Regions from separate parts of the Homo sapiens genome. Here region 2 is linked to region 1. Evidence: promoter capture Hi-C in 16 types of primary human blood cells and fetal thymus (Javierre and others, 2016). All regions are on one chromosome and are shown on one strand. Each heading gives the region's core, a stretch centred on a gene start or on the middle of the fragment in contact. The rest is flanking DNA. Distances are from core to core; before and after follow the strand shown.

What was found. Contacts are between HindIII fragments. The CHiCAGO score rates a contact against its expected background, and 5 or more counts as called.
Region 2: a fragment that was not itself captured here is called in contact with the fragment with the promoter of ETS1-AS1 in region 1 in 7 of 17 cell types (activated CD4 T cells, total CD8 T cells, non-activated CD4 T cells and 4 more); the score reaches 11.2 in activated CD4 T cells.

What each region holds. Positions count from the first base shown.
Region 1 is chr11:128,523,675-128,530,105 of GRCh38, reverse strand. It overlaps ETS1-AS1 (ETS1 antisense RNA 1), which reads right to left and starts at 3,964. Exons shown (of 4, transcript NR_120581.1): 1 at 3,791-3,964; 2 at 2,688-3,573; 3 at 1,021-1,095. The region is part of intron 3 of ETS1 (ETS proto-oncogene 1, transcription factor); the gene reads left to right. The HindIII fragment of the contact is 5,425 bases long and covers 1-4,365 here.
Region 2 is chr11:128,482,686-128,489,095 of GRCh38, reverse strand. It overlaps ETS1 (ETS proto-oncogene 1, transcription factor), which reads left to right. Exons shown (of 10, transcript NM_001143820.2): 6 at 2,950-3,027; 7 at 4,025-4,273. Among named protein-coding and RNA genes, the nearest start is that of MIR6090, 36 kb to the left of the region's middle. RefSeq lists enhancers at 5,549-5,618, 5,989-6,038, 6,219-6,298. The HindIII fragment of the contact is 766 bases long and covers 3,893-4,658 here.

The DNA of each region.
Region 1 (6,431 bases), core at 2,715-5,214:
CTTATTCAAATCTGTCAACTTTACATCATTGGCATGCTTGATGCTCAGTAAATTCTAAATATGAATAATTACACTGGACACCCTAAAGTTGTTTTAATGAATTTATGTTCCTGCATATTTATGAAACTCAGATTCTGTGCACCCTTTTCAGGAGAGTACATACCAGAAAAGAGGTTTAAAGCAGCATGGGAACTTAAAAAGTGCTATGCATTTTACTTCCTCTGTTGGTAGAGTTAGCATTGGTGAAGCTAGGATTCATATTAATTCATTATGACACTATAATGCTGCTCATTGAAGGATGCCTAAGGTAAGATAGGCATAGATTCTTGAGTAAAATGTTTGTGGATGACTGCAGTGACATACTCAAAGAATGTTATATTTACTGGCTAAGCAGGCTGTTCTTAGTGTGACACATCAATGTTTTCTTGGGGCTCTTATACGGAACTGGTTCTGGAAGAAGTGATGTAAAATAATGTGTGTTCATGATTCCCCCTCAGAACTCAGGAGAAATCATGAGCCCTCACCAAATCCAATATTTCCTTGGTTTTTAGGCTTTAAGATCAGCTGCCTTTTCTGTTCCAACATCTTGATTACCCATTAGTAGATACAAACAACAAAGTGCAGAGAGCAATACTCTACTTCGACAAAAGTGGTTAGGGCTGCTTTCTATATTTCTGTGCCACCTGCTAGATTGTAGCAGCTCCATTTGATCCTCCCTGTCCTTTTCATTCCCATCTTCACTCTCAGCCCATCCCCATGTCCCCCCATTTCTACTTCCAACCCATACCCTTCCTCAATATAGAATCACCTGTATAGCCAGAAGATATATTTCAAAATACAGTGCTTCTGGAGTCCTGACAGATTAAACTTGAGAAGGTGAAAGGGATTTGTAGTAAGCACCCTGGCTCACCATAAAGCATGTAACAGTCTATTCTTTCTCATAAAGATGGAGGAAATTGAGTTCATTTCATGTATTTCCCTTATCTTACAAATAATGTATATAGCAGTTGTACATCTTACCTTTGTGGAAGCCAGTGAAATAAAAGATTCAACTCGAAGTTCGGAAATTCCTGAAGACTGCTTCTGAGCAGCCATCTGAGAATATGAATAGCGTGATGTATAAAACGTCCAGGCTGACAATCAAACAACTGATTTACTTCGTGGTGAGCCAAATGTCATTTTTTACATGAAGTCTCAGAATAAAAAATTAGATAAAAAGTAAAATGAATATTGTGATCTTAGCAACATTCTCCTTTAAGGGGATGGGAGGAATGGGAGGAACAGAATAAAACTTTACGAAGACCTTTTTAGTTAGAAATGAGTCAGTTGGTTGGATCTTTAATCTTAAACTTTGGGCAAATTTGAGTCTCACTTCAGACCGAACTAGGCAAAACAAAACTGGTATCTGAGCTTCATTTTTCTGTAAAAATGTTACGGGGATGTTAGGAAGTTAACTGTTCATTAATTAAATAATGAACATAATTTATGGGGCTCTTACTACCTTGAGCTAAACACCATGGAGTGTAATAATGACTGAACCTCAGTTGCTGCCTTTAAAGAGTGTAGGAGACTGACACGCATATTCAAATATGTACTAGGAGTGTGCTCTTGAGCTGAGCAGAAAAGTGGCAACTTGCAGGGGTGGGGTGACAGCTTCTGTGAGGGAAATTCTTTGTGTACTGCAAATGTCCATGTGAGGAAAAGACTGAGAAACACACTCTATATTCTGCCTAGATTGTCAGCTTGACCTTCCCTTGTGTCTTCTGTGACCTCCTGAGATCCTTTCACCTCCATTCTATCCTGGATCCTTTGCATCTCTTCCAGCATGAGGACCTCCCATTGATCTGTTTTCTGTAGTTCCATGACTGTTGGCCATGCAAGACAATTAATTAAAGTATGGGATACTTTACTAGGTCTTAACTGCATTTTGAAATCTTGGGGACTGAAGTCCCAGAACGACAAGAACATAAAATCACTGTGACTCTACCTCCTCATCTCCTCCCCTTCTCTGTCCTCGACTTACACTTCCATTGTTCTCAGAGGACTTCCCTTCCACTACTTCCTCCTGTACCACCGTCCCTTTTCCTTTCAGGGCTATTTCTCCTTTTTGTGCTCCACTTATCTCTGCTTCTTGATCTCTGGGGTGGTAAATGTTAGTCTTTTGGGGCAATTGATTTGGCATTTTAAATGAAAGTAGTGGGGAGAGGGGAAAAGATTCCACAGTGAAATTGTCTTAATGTAAGATTCAAACCACAACTGCAGAGAACATCTGTTTTGAAGTTTGATGTTGTCTTTGTAACCCAAGAGAAAAGCAGAGTAAGATCAGAGGAAGGCCTTAGCCTTCCACCAGGATGAAACCACCTGCAGCCTTGGACAGTGGGTGAAATCCTGTAGCCCTGGGATGCAGAGCTTCTAGGAGACTGGCTGTCCTCTTCTCTCATATTATTAAAGGATGTTGGTTCTCTTGCCATCTGTGCTATTGCCATTATCCCTCTACCTCCTCAAGAGTCCAATTCAGGACAATTTAAATTGGAATCCCAATTACATGATCCCCAAAGGCTCACAGAGTAGCCTGCATTCTGCATTTGCAGCAATTCCAGGCAACATGCTCAGCCTGCTTCAGGGAAGCACACAACACTGAGTGTGGATGAGACCTCAGAACCCTCTAACCTTGGGCAGCTCCTTACCTCTTCCTGTCTGAGCCATGTTTGATTTGCTGCAAGAGGAATACGTGTCTAAACTGCTGGATTTTAAAATGTCGCTTGGTCTGTGGATTAGGCCAATCCACCCCACATTGTTGGGGCTGCAGATGCAGTTGAATGGTTCATAATTATAGTCTAAAGAAACTGCAGACAGCAATAGAGCCAACCCAGGCCCTTTCTCTCCTGACAGCCCATGCCAAGCTGTCTCCCACAGGGAACCATAGTGTGGTTATCCTGCAATGTATTTGCCCAAAGACAATACATCCAGTGTAGAGAAGTTGGATTTCTAGAAATTGAGTCTGCTCATCTATCTACTCCCATGTCCATTGTATCCTGTCTTGTGTCTCAAGGGTGTCTGGTACTTCTCCTGCCAAAGTGAAATGCAAAGTAAATGCAAGGAGATGCCAGGGAGAGAACTGCTATCAGGGCATCTGGTTCTAGTACTGACACTGACTTTTTTAGATTGTGTGGCCCTGGAAATAATAATTTCCTCACTCACACTCATTTTTCACCTCTGGTAAATAGGAGTGCTGGACTTGGAGAGCACTGATAAACTCCCATTGAGCTCTAACATGTGACAAATCCAAGACCTAAGGTTTTGTCTCCAAAGAGGCACTACAAATGTGATCTTCTTTCAGAATTTAAACTGTCACTTTTCTGTGACTCAAAACAAATATAAATCTAGTTCTCTTCTCCAATCAGGTAGTTCTCGAATTTCTCAAGTGAGGCTGATGCTGGGCAGGTTGCCAGTTTAAGAACTGAGGAAGGGTCTTGAAGAGATTTTTAAATGAAATGTGGTGATAGTTGTTCTATCTCTCGCTGGAGATCGTTCAGGAAAATTGAGCATCCAAGCTATTCTGCAAAGAGATGGCTGTAGACAGACATTTAATGTGATTTCCCACATATTCTACCGTATACTAGATCTTAATAACAATAATCAAATACTAATTCTCACCTAGACACTGTGCTAAATTCTTTGCATACATTATCTCATTTAATCATTCAAATAGCCTTAAAAGGTGTGTGCTGCTATTATCCCTAGTTGAAACATGGAGGAACTGAGGTTCGGGATTGTTTAAATGACTTACCTGTGGCAATTCAGCTGGCTAGTTGGTAGAGTAAGAATTTGAACCTGAGTCTTATTCCAAAGCCCACACTACTATCCTCTTTGTTTTCTTATATTGAGCTTTCCAGGGCAAACAGGCTCCCAAGTCCTCCCCTCTCCCCCAACCCCACCCCACCCTCCCTTCTTCCCTCCTGACTGCAGCTCCTCCTACCCTCATTGTTTATTGTGCCTTCTAAACAATAGCCAATGAGTCTGTGTTCCATTCTAGGGAGAGCTAGGGCTGATTTTATTCCCTGAAACAGAGATGAGGTTGTGACACAAAAAGGTTAAGTGGCTTTGGTGAGGTCACAGAGCCAGCCTGCAGTCAGCAACAGTACCATCTGAGTCCCCTGGCTTGGGTCCCTTAACTGACCCTAAGGCTTTTTGGCATCCAAGTTTAATTAAGAGAGTTATTTTAATTTTCCTTCCTATCTCTAATTTTCCATTTTATTGCTGCTTGATAATGTAGATATTGAAGTGCCAGGCATTTTTCTTCCCTAGTGTGACTTTTAATGACTAAACTTCTCACATAGAAACCACTTGCCTTAGAAGTAAGCTTTCAAAGCTTGTTTCTGTGTATGACAGAGACTGTTGCCTTTTCTCAGAGAAAAATGAGACCACAAATGCAGCTCAGACAGGTTGTTGTTAATTGAGGGCTTTTTTTTTTTTTTTTTTTTTTCTAAATCTTACATTTATACCAGTAAATCAACATCTGTGAGTCATAAACTGGTTCTGGATCAGCCGTTAGTGGTCTGAATGTTTTTGTACCTACCTTCAGTAAAGCATATTTTAGCTCAAAACTCAGAGATTCTTTGTTTTGTTGAAGTTCAAGACTCAGGAGTAGATAACATGCTAGGACACTTCTGGAGAGGGAAAGTCTGTCTTCCATGATTGTTCAACATTAAGTGTATATTTATATTTCTTTTTTATTGAAGTTGGGGTGGAGTTGAGGGAGGAGTATAAATAAAAAAGAAAGTATGCTTTTTACATACTCCATGTGCTTGAGGAATTCCTGTATGAAGGTGACTATTTTCTTAATATTATTGTCTAGCTCCACTCTTCTGTTCCCCAACTCCTGCGGACTTTTCTTGGCCCTTATTGACTTCACGTTCCTAGTGTAAGGCAATTCAGCACTTGGTAGGATATAATTAGCCGAAGTCTAAGGAATGCTTAAAAATACAATTCTGTTTTTTCCCAAATGCAGGAGGAACAGACTGCTGCAGTACAAGCACAAGCACAGAAGTATTTATTTGATTGATTTTTTTTTTTCCTGAGTGCCTTAAAAACCAGATATGGTATTGAAGTATCTTGCCCAAGTGGATGAAAGGCAACGCTTGGCTGCTGTTGTTTGGCTGGTGGGGACACTGAGGCATACATGTAACCGAGTGGACGTGAGTGCTGGGGATAGAGGTTCTGCTCTACTATGAAGGGAAAAGGGCACAGCCTCTGACACTTTTTAGTTCATCTTCACAAGCCAGAGCATATCAAACTCACTTAATCATTGAATTAGGAAGCCCATAGTGACCAAAAAGTTGATAGTTCATCATTCAACACATATTTATTGAGCTCTGTAATGTCTTAGGCACTAGGCTAGGCATCAATGTTTTAGCGTATGATAACATAGAAATATCATTTAAAGTCCATATGAACATTTAGAAAAATCTACTTGTGTCCTAAAGAGAATGAATAAAAATTTCATTTATCAACATTGATTAGATTAATGAAACATGACCCTGGCAGACCTGATCAGATTATTATATCTTAAATATGTAAAAAATATTTTAACATGACCTTATTAGTGCTCTTCATCCAAATCCAGGGTTCGATGCATAACTTCTGATGGCATAAATATTCATAATTAATATCATCTGGAGGTAACTTTCCTGGCAGCCTGTGGTGGCGCCTGGCTATCTCTCCAAACTGCTGCTTTACGCAACCCTATTCCTTGATTTGGACATTCACTCATTTTGTTTCTGTGCTTCAGGACTGGATTAGGAAACGGATGATTGACTATCTGAGTTGTCACTATGGAAGAATTAGAAAGAATAATTTTCCTCATTGCTAGAGTGGAAAGTGTTTACAGTTTAATCATGGTGGGCTTTTTTAGTATCTAATTTGGGTGGATGTTAGCAGCAGTGTTTAGGCTAGTCTGGGGAAGAAAGTTGAGGAGCAAACTGGGGAAGAGAGAAAGGAGTTGCTCTGAGGAATCTGCATTTGAAAATAGAGAAGTACTCACACTTGGATTAAAAAATGCCAACATTTTCTCAATACAACATCAACAAAACAAAATTCCCCAAAGCAACTCTAGATTTGTTCACTTCTTCTCCTGATGAATTCATAGTGAGTAAGGCAGAATTGATTCAAGAACCTTTTTTTTTTTGTGGTTCATTTGGACGTGTAAATGTACAATTCATTCATCAGCTGTTTCTCTAGGCTTTTCCCAGGACCAGAAGGGTCTGTTCTTGTCATCTGGAGGCCAGCATTGTTTTCTCATACCTTGTGGAAACACAGCTGGATTGCAACAGTCTTTGTTCTTTCAAAAATTAGGACTATCACATACAAATATTTTCCTCTGGTCACTAAGGAGGGATTTAATCTGGAGTTTAGACCAGGAGCCACAGATT
Region 2 (6,410 bases), core at 3,026-5,525, 41 kb after region 1:
TACATATTGGGGGTTCAGATATTAATCTTCAGCAAGATTGTACCACTGAAGCTTCTTGGATTGCAACATTCTAATCCAGGTCCTTATCTCAAACCCATGCCCTGGTTGAACAAGCAGTGCCCACAGCCAACCCAAGAATAGTTTTTGTTTTTGTTTTTGTTTTTGTTTTCTGCAATCTTAATACACACTGCCTTGATGCATGCCCCATAATACCTCATCACATCCCGGGAAAGCTTAGCGTCTGAGACCGTATTAATAAGACAGATTTCTCTGCCCACTAACTGAATTGGAATTGCAGTAGTGCATCATACCTTTTACATCTGGAGCAGGAACTGGGGTTATATCAGGACGCTATGTTGCAACCTTATAATGACATGGCCTCCCCTAACAGCCTCTTCCAACCTTTTTGGACCAAGTGACTCATGTACCACAGTCCTGGCTGAGTATAGAAACAGCAGCAGGCGGCAAACTTGGGTGTTTTTGTGCTTATTTTTTTGAATTTTTTCTTAAAATAAATTGCAGTTACCAGCAGTCAGCAGTGCCCTTCAGCTGACTGTAAGCCTAGAAGCCCATTGCCCTCTCTAACCCAGGCCCATCCTTTCCCTGTGGTCATCAGCTCTAACCCTTGGCACAGACGCTGGGGGAGGGGAGCAAAACTCAGGATTAGCACTTTTACCCCGCATTATACCTTCCTTTGGTTAAGAATATATTCCATTCTGCAGTGCTCAAGAGAGACCCAAACTAGATTTCTCTGTGCTCAAAAATGTTATCTTTATTCCTTCTTTTCACTTTCTGTTGAAAAATAAGACATAAAGGAATACAGGAAAGAACTAGGTGAGTCTTTCTGTGGCTGCTTTTACCGAGGATGGCAGGCAGTTGCAAAGCACCGGCATGTTCTCCATGCACAGACACCCACTCATAGGTGTTGACATGAGCGACCTGTTTATAGAGGGAAACGATACGGCAGGCTCCTAACAGATCTGATTTGACTGTTGACTTCTAAACACAATAGCAGATTCAATCAGACTGTGTAACCCAGTATATTCTACTAAGAGGCTGTTTTCCTCCATTTATCAAAATGGAGCTGCTAGGTGTTTTGGGCTATCTAAGCCCATCTCTGATTGTAGTTACAATTAATATCTCTATCATGTCTCCCTGTTTCCAAAGTGCTTTCAAATACATTTTCTCTTTGGATTATCAAAATAACTGTGAGATAGTAAGGACAAGTCCTATTATTGTCCTTGTCTGTAAAATGAAGCTCAGGGTAGGCGATTTCTTCAGTATCACTCATCTCCTTTTCTTCATTTTATTTCAACTTTCAGTATATTTTTATTTTATTTTATTTTATTTATTTTTTGAGACAGAGTCTTGCTCTGTCACCCAGGCTGGAGTGCAGTCGCGCGATGTCGGCTCACTGCAACCTTCGCCTCCTAGGTTCAAGCGATTCTCCTGCCTCACCCTCCTGAGTAGCTGGGACTACAGGCGCATGCCACCATGCCTAGCTAATTTTTGTATTTTTAGTAGAGTCAGGGCTTCACCGTGTTGGCCAGGATGGTCTTGATCCCTTGACCTCGTGATCTGCCCACCTTGGCCTCCCAAAACACTGGGATTACAGGCGTGAGCCACCGCGCCTGCCCTCAATATATTTTTATTTAACTTAAAATTTAACATCCCATCCTGTGCTTTTTGTATAATAATGTGGATTCACAGGGGCCTTCTGGCCGCTAAGACTGGTTTGGCCTCACTTAGGGTAAAGGAATAATGTAAGAAAATTTAAGAGAATTAGGATATAAGTCAGTATGTTTGAGAGCAAAAGTCATATCTTCCCACCCAATATTCTGTTGAGAGAGGCAGAAAGAATTCTCCCTCTTCAGGTTCAGTTACTTGAAGAGATGAGCATGATGTTTGTGCTGAGGCTACAGCTTTTGTTCTGTAATTAAAGCAACACAGCAGCAAAAGAACATAGCTGTTTGGGGTGGGGTGGAAGGTGAAAGGTACGGGGATGTTTCAATCTGATAAACTGCTAAAGCAAAGTTTAATCATTTTATCTCAACTGGGAACTGTTTTTCTGTGCAGGCATAAACTTGTTTTCCCATCAGACTTTGCTCCTAACAAGCTATCAAATACCTGAGGAAAAACCCAAACCCATACTCTATGTCAGATTCTTATGGTGAAATATAATCAGACTACTCCATACAAGAATCGGAGCCATGGCATTTGTTCCAGGGTAATTAGAGGATCCCAGGCTTACTGCAGGGTCGTTCAGAGCTTTCTGTCCGCAGGTGCACTTCGTCTCCCTTCCTCTCCTTTTCCTAGGGGAGTTGGCATCTGGGCAGGAGCTTGACTGGGTTGCTCTTCTCTCCCTTGACACAAGCGCAGTCGCATTTCACCAAATGGAGTCACCTTACCAGTGTCCTGCTTCTTGTCTGGGCCTGAACTTGAAACCTGAGGGCAATGGGAAAAATACAAAACAAAAACCAGACATCTGTTAGAGGAAATGGAGAACGTAAAATCTATGGCCTAAAGACTGCAATATATTTTTGAGAAATTTTGAAATTGATTAGTTTGGGGGTTGGGGATTGATCCTGCTAACCTGGGATGTACTCAAGCCTTTGGCTATAGTGTGGTCGACATACACGCAGCACGAATGCATTGAGAATGAATGCTGAATGCCTTCTGAGCCCTTAGAGATTACTCATGGATTCTCTTTCCAAGATACTAAATCCCATTTTGCAGCTACTGAAATAATAACCTTAGTCATATTTTTTTGATCTCATCTTTAGACAAGGCCACAGTCAGGACAGACTCAGATACCAACCCAGTTAATGAGTATGCAGATTTCTTAGAAAAGGGGTTGAGATCATTGTGGTCTTTGCATCCAAGATCCTTTTAGGCCAAGCATGACTTGAATATTGACCTCTTTGTTCCTTCCCTATCTGTTCATTACAGAGGATGTGAAACCATATCAAGTTAATGGAGTCAACCCAGCCTATCCAGAATCCCGCTATACCTCGGATTACTTCATTAGTAAGTTCATTTCTACCCCTCTTCTCTCATGATAATAGCAAACTAGGAAAAGACCCCTATCTCAGTGAATCTCAGGCTCCTTCATGGTAATTCTATCAAAAATAATATCTTCTTAGATGTAGACTCTTCTTTGTTACTTTATTTTATTATTTTCCACAAAGCACAAAGTTTCAACCTATATATATGTTTCATTAACCTACCAAGTTCCTACACACTAGGATCCTTCTCTGATGTCTTCACCTGAAAGTCATGCAGAGAGACTGCAACTAGACCCCTAAACTTTTGTTCCTATTTGATACTGTGCACTACGATGGCCAAAAGAGGGTTGGGTTAGGGATTTGATCTTGGTCTTTGTTCTTTCCTTTTTACTAGTGGAGATAACAGCATTTCCTCCAAAATCCTTCTTTAAGAGTGTGCTATGCAGCTTCAAATTCTATTATAGGAAATACAGTCTTCTCCTTTTTCGTGTAAGATACCCAACCATACTGAAGAGATGGCCTGAGGGAAACAATGAATGTAGGCCTGTTGCACTAATGTAAGCTCTGAGATATAGGACCATCTTATCTGATGGCTGTGCTTTTACAGGGAATATGAAACAGGTTTTATTTTTTTCGTTTTATCTTTTTACGTTATTACAATTTTTATTCCAGTGACACAATGATATTAACTACTCTGTGTCAAGAGCTTATTGTGTGGGGAATGTTGGTGGGCATTTGACCTCTATCCTCATTTCATCTTCATCACAGTGCTCCGGGAAAAATCGCAATCACCCCCATTTTAGAGATGAGGATATGAAGTCAGGAAATCAATTACCTTGTCAAGGGCTAAAGCTGTTTAGTAGTGGACAAGGTTAAAAATGCAAGCTTTTCTGATTTAAAGTATTTTCCCTTATTCTCTAAGGAGCTTGTCCCACATCATAGGGCCCTGTAGATGGTGAAAACTGCTTATTTTAGGTACAAATCTCTCCTCTCTTTACTTGCAAACCCTTTGTTTCCAGGCTATGGTATTGAGCATGCCCAGTGTGTTCCACCATCGGAGTTCTCAGAGCCCAGCTTCATCACAGAGTCCTATCAGACGCTCCATCCCATCAGCTCGGAAGAGCTCCTCTCCCTCAAGTATGAGAATGACTACCCCTCGGTCATTCTCCGAGACCCTCTCCAGACAGACACCTTGCAGAATGACTACTTTGCTATCAAACAAGAAGTCGTCACCCCAGACAACATGTGCATGGGGAGGACCAGTCGTGGTAGGTCATATTTCTTCTCTAAAAGCTCTTGGGTTTACAAGAATTACCTGACTTTGTGAGTTTTTTTCAGGTTCCATTTTTTTTTTCTTATTTATTAGACCTGTAGATTCCTCAGTTTCAGCCTTCCCATCTTAGAGTGTCCAGATACTAAGAACTTTCCATCGTGGTGTTTTAGCCAAGTCCATTATTATGACAAAGGCCATGGGGTCCACAGTGAAATCAAAATCAGGCAATCTAAGAAATTAAATATCTTACTTGGGCAAAATGTTTTACTCAATAACTCTAGTTGAATTTGGTCATTTTGAAAGGTATGCTCTATTTTCCTTGAGGAGGACATAATCAAGTAAAAATGGTTCAAGTGGCCACCCTGGAAAACCCTTAAGCTTAGCATGTGTCCTGGTGCTCCTCCCAGAGGACTCCTGGGTCTGACTGTAGATCCTAGCTGGGTACCTGGAATGACCTCTGCTGGCCAGCCTGGGATCTTTAGCCTCCTGTGACTTTTTCGGTTTGGGAAGATACAAGATGGTTAACCAACGGTTTATTTGGAACCAGTCATCAGCAGTGTGGTGAAGTGTGTATTTAGCTAGAGGACCAGGGACGGAGGTGGCCAGGGGTTTCCAAAAGAAGGTAGTTTTGTTAACGTGACTATTATAATAGTGATAAAATATTCACTGTCAGGGAAGAAAGTGTTTAAAAATAGAGCTGGGTGACATAAAGCAAAAAAGGTAAAATGCACCCAATTTTTAGGAACAGGACATAAACACTCAGAGGTACAGCCTACCTAGTAAAGTGTCCAGATTGTTTTGTTTCTGAGAAAAATGCAATCTATTGTAAGAAAGGGTTTGTCTATTTAGCAAGAGCTAGATGATTTCTAAAAAGGTGAAAAACCTGACTTTTCTGGTGGGTAAATGGGAAAGAATTATAAATGGGAAGAGGAACAGGAGAAAGCTGATCAAGCGGGGCTTGGGTCAGATGTCAGGCTGGGGCTGGCCTATTAGTGATTTCTGCTCAATGACTGACCATATGCGGTGCCTATTGTGAGGCTCTTGGAGGAGAGCCCAATGGTACCTTTACTTTGAAGAATCATGGGTCATGCCCATTGTCGTCTTCTTCGAGTATTCAGACTCACACTTCCTCCTAGCAGGCCTAGGGATCACCAACAAGCCCTGCAGAGGGAAAGTCCCTGCAAAATCAGAACCCCTAATCTTCCTTCTTAAGGCCCCAGGGTGTTAGTGTTTCAGACCGAAGGGGATGGGTGGGACCAGTCGGCCTTCCCCTTTCTGGCTCTTTTTTATTTTTGGGTGCATGTCTATTTAAATACATACACACAAGTGTGTGTACATGTGTTTCTTTTTTATCAGGCGAGTCAAAGCATTAAAACGACTTTCTTCCTTGTGGGACTTTCTGTACATCTACACAGTGAGGCCAAGCCTGTGGGTTTGGGCTCAGCCATGTTGTAACTTTGGGTCGATCTCCTGTCACATTGTTTTGAAATTGCATCTGGCTTTGCATTTGTGTAATTGTCTCTTTCCCTCTCCTTTTCTTCATTCTTGGTTTTGGTCCCTACCACCCCTCCAACCCCAAACTAATGACTGTGGACCAAAAGTGACCCTTACAAGGAGACATGAGGTATTTCTTTCTGGCTCCACTCTTCTTCCCTCCCTCCAAGTTCAGGCCACAGAAACTTGAGGGGAAGACCATTTTGTGCAGGGCTGTTTTCTGCATGTTAGAAGTGCTGCAAACAGGGCCTATGCAAAGGGCCAATTGATTCTGAGATGCTGTGATTGGTCTAGACCGAAAGCATTACTGTTAGCTGATTGTTATTTATACTAACCATAGTACAGTATTCACGGGCTGCATTACAGCGTACAGAGTGCTTCTATGCCCCACTTATTTGGGCCCTAAGGACTGTCTTTGTACGAGTCTACTCAGTGGGTGGCTGGGTGCTGCCGCATCTTCTGTTTTGAGTGCTCTGAGGTCTGTTTGGTGGACTCAGATAGCTTTGGAAGGAGCTCGCCGAGGCCCTTCTCAGAAAGGCTGGCTAGTGGACAGTTTAGAGAACACAGGTTTCCCTACATGAGCGCAGCAGCATAACTGAGTATCTAATCCAGTTGGATTCTACCCATTTTTGGAGAAA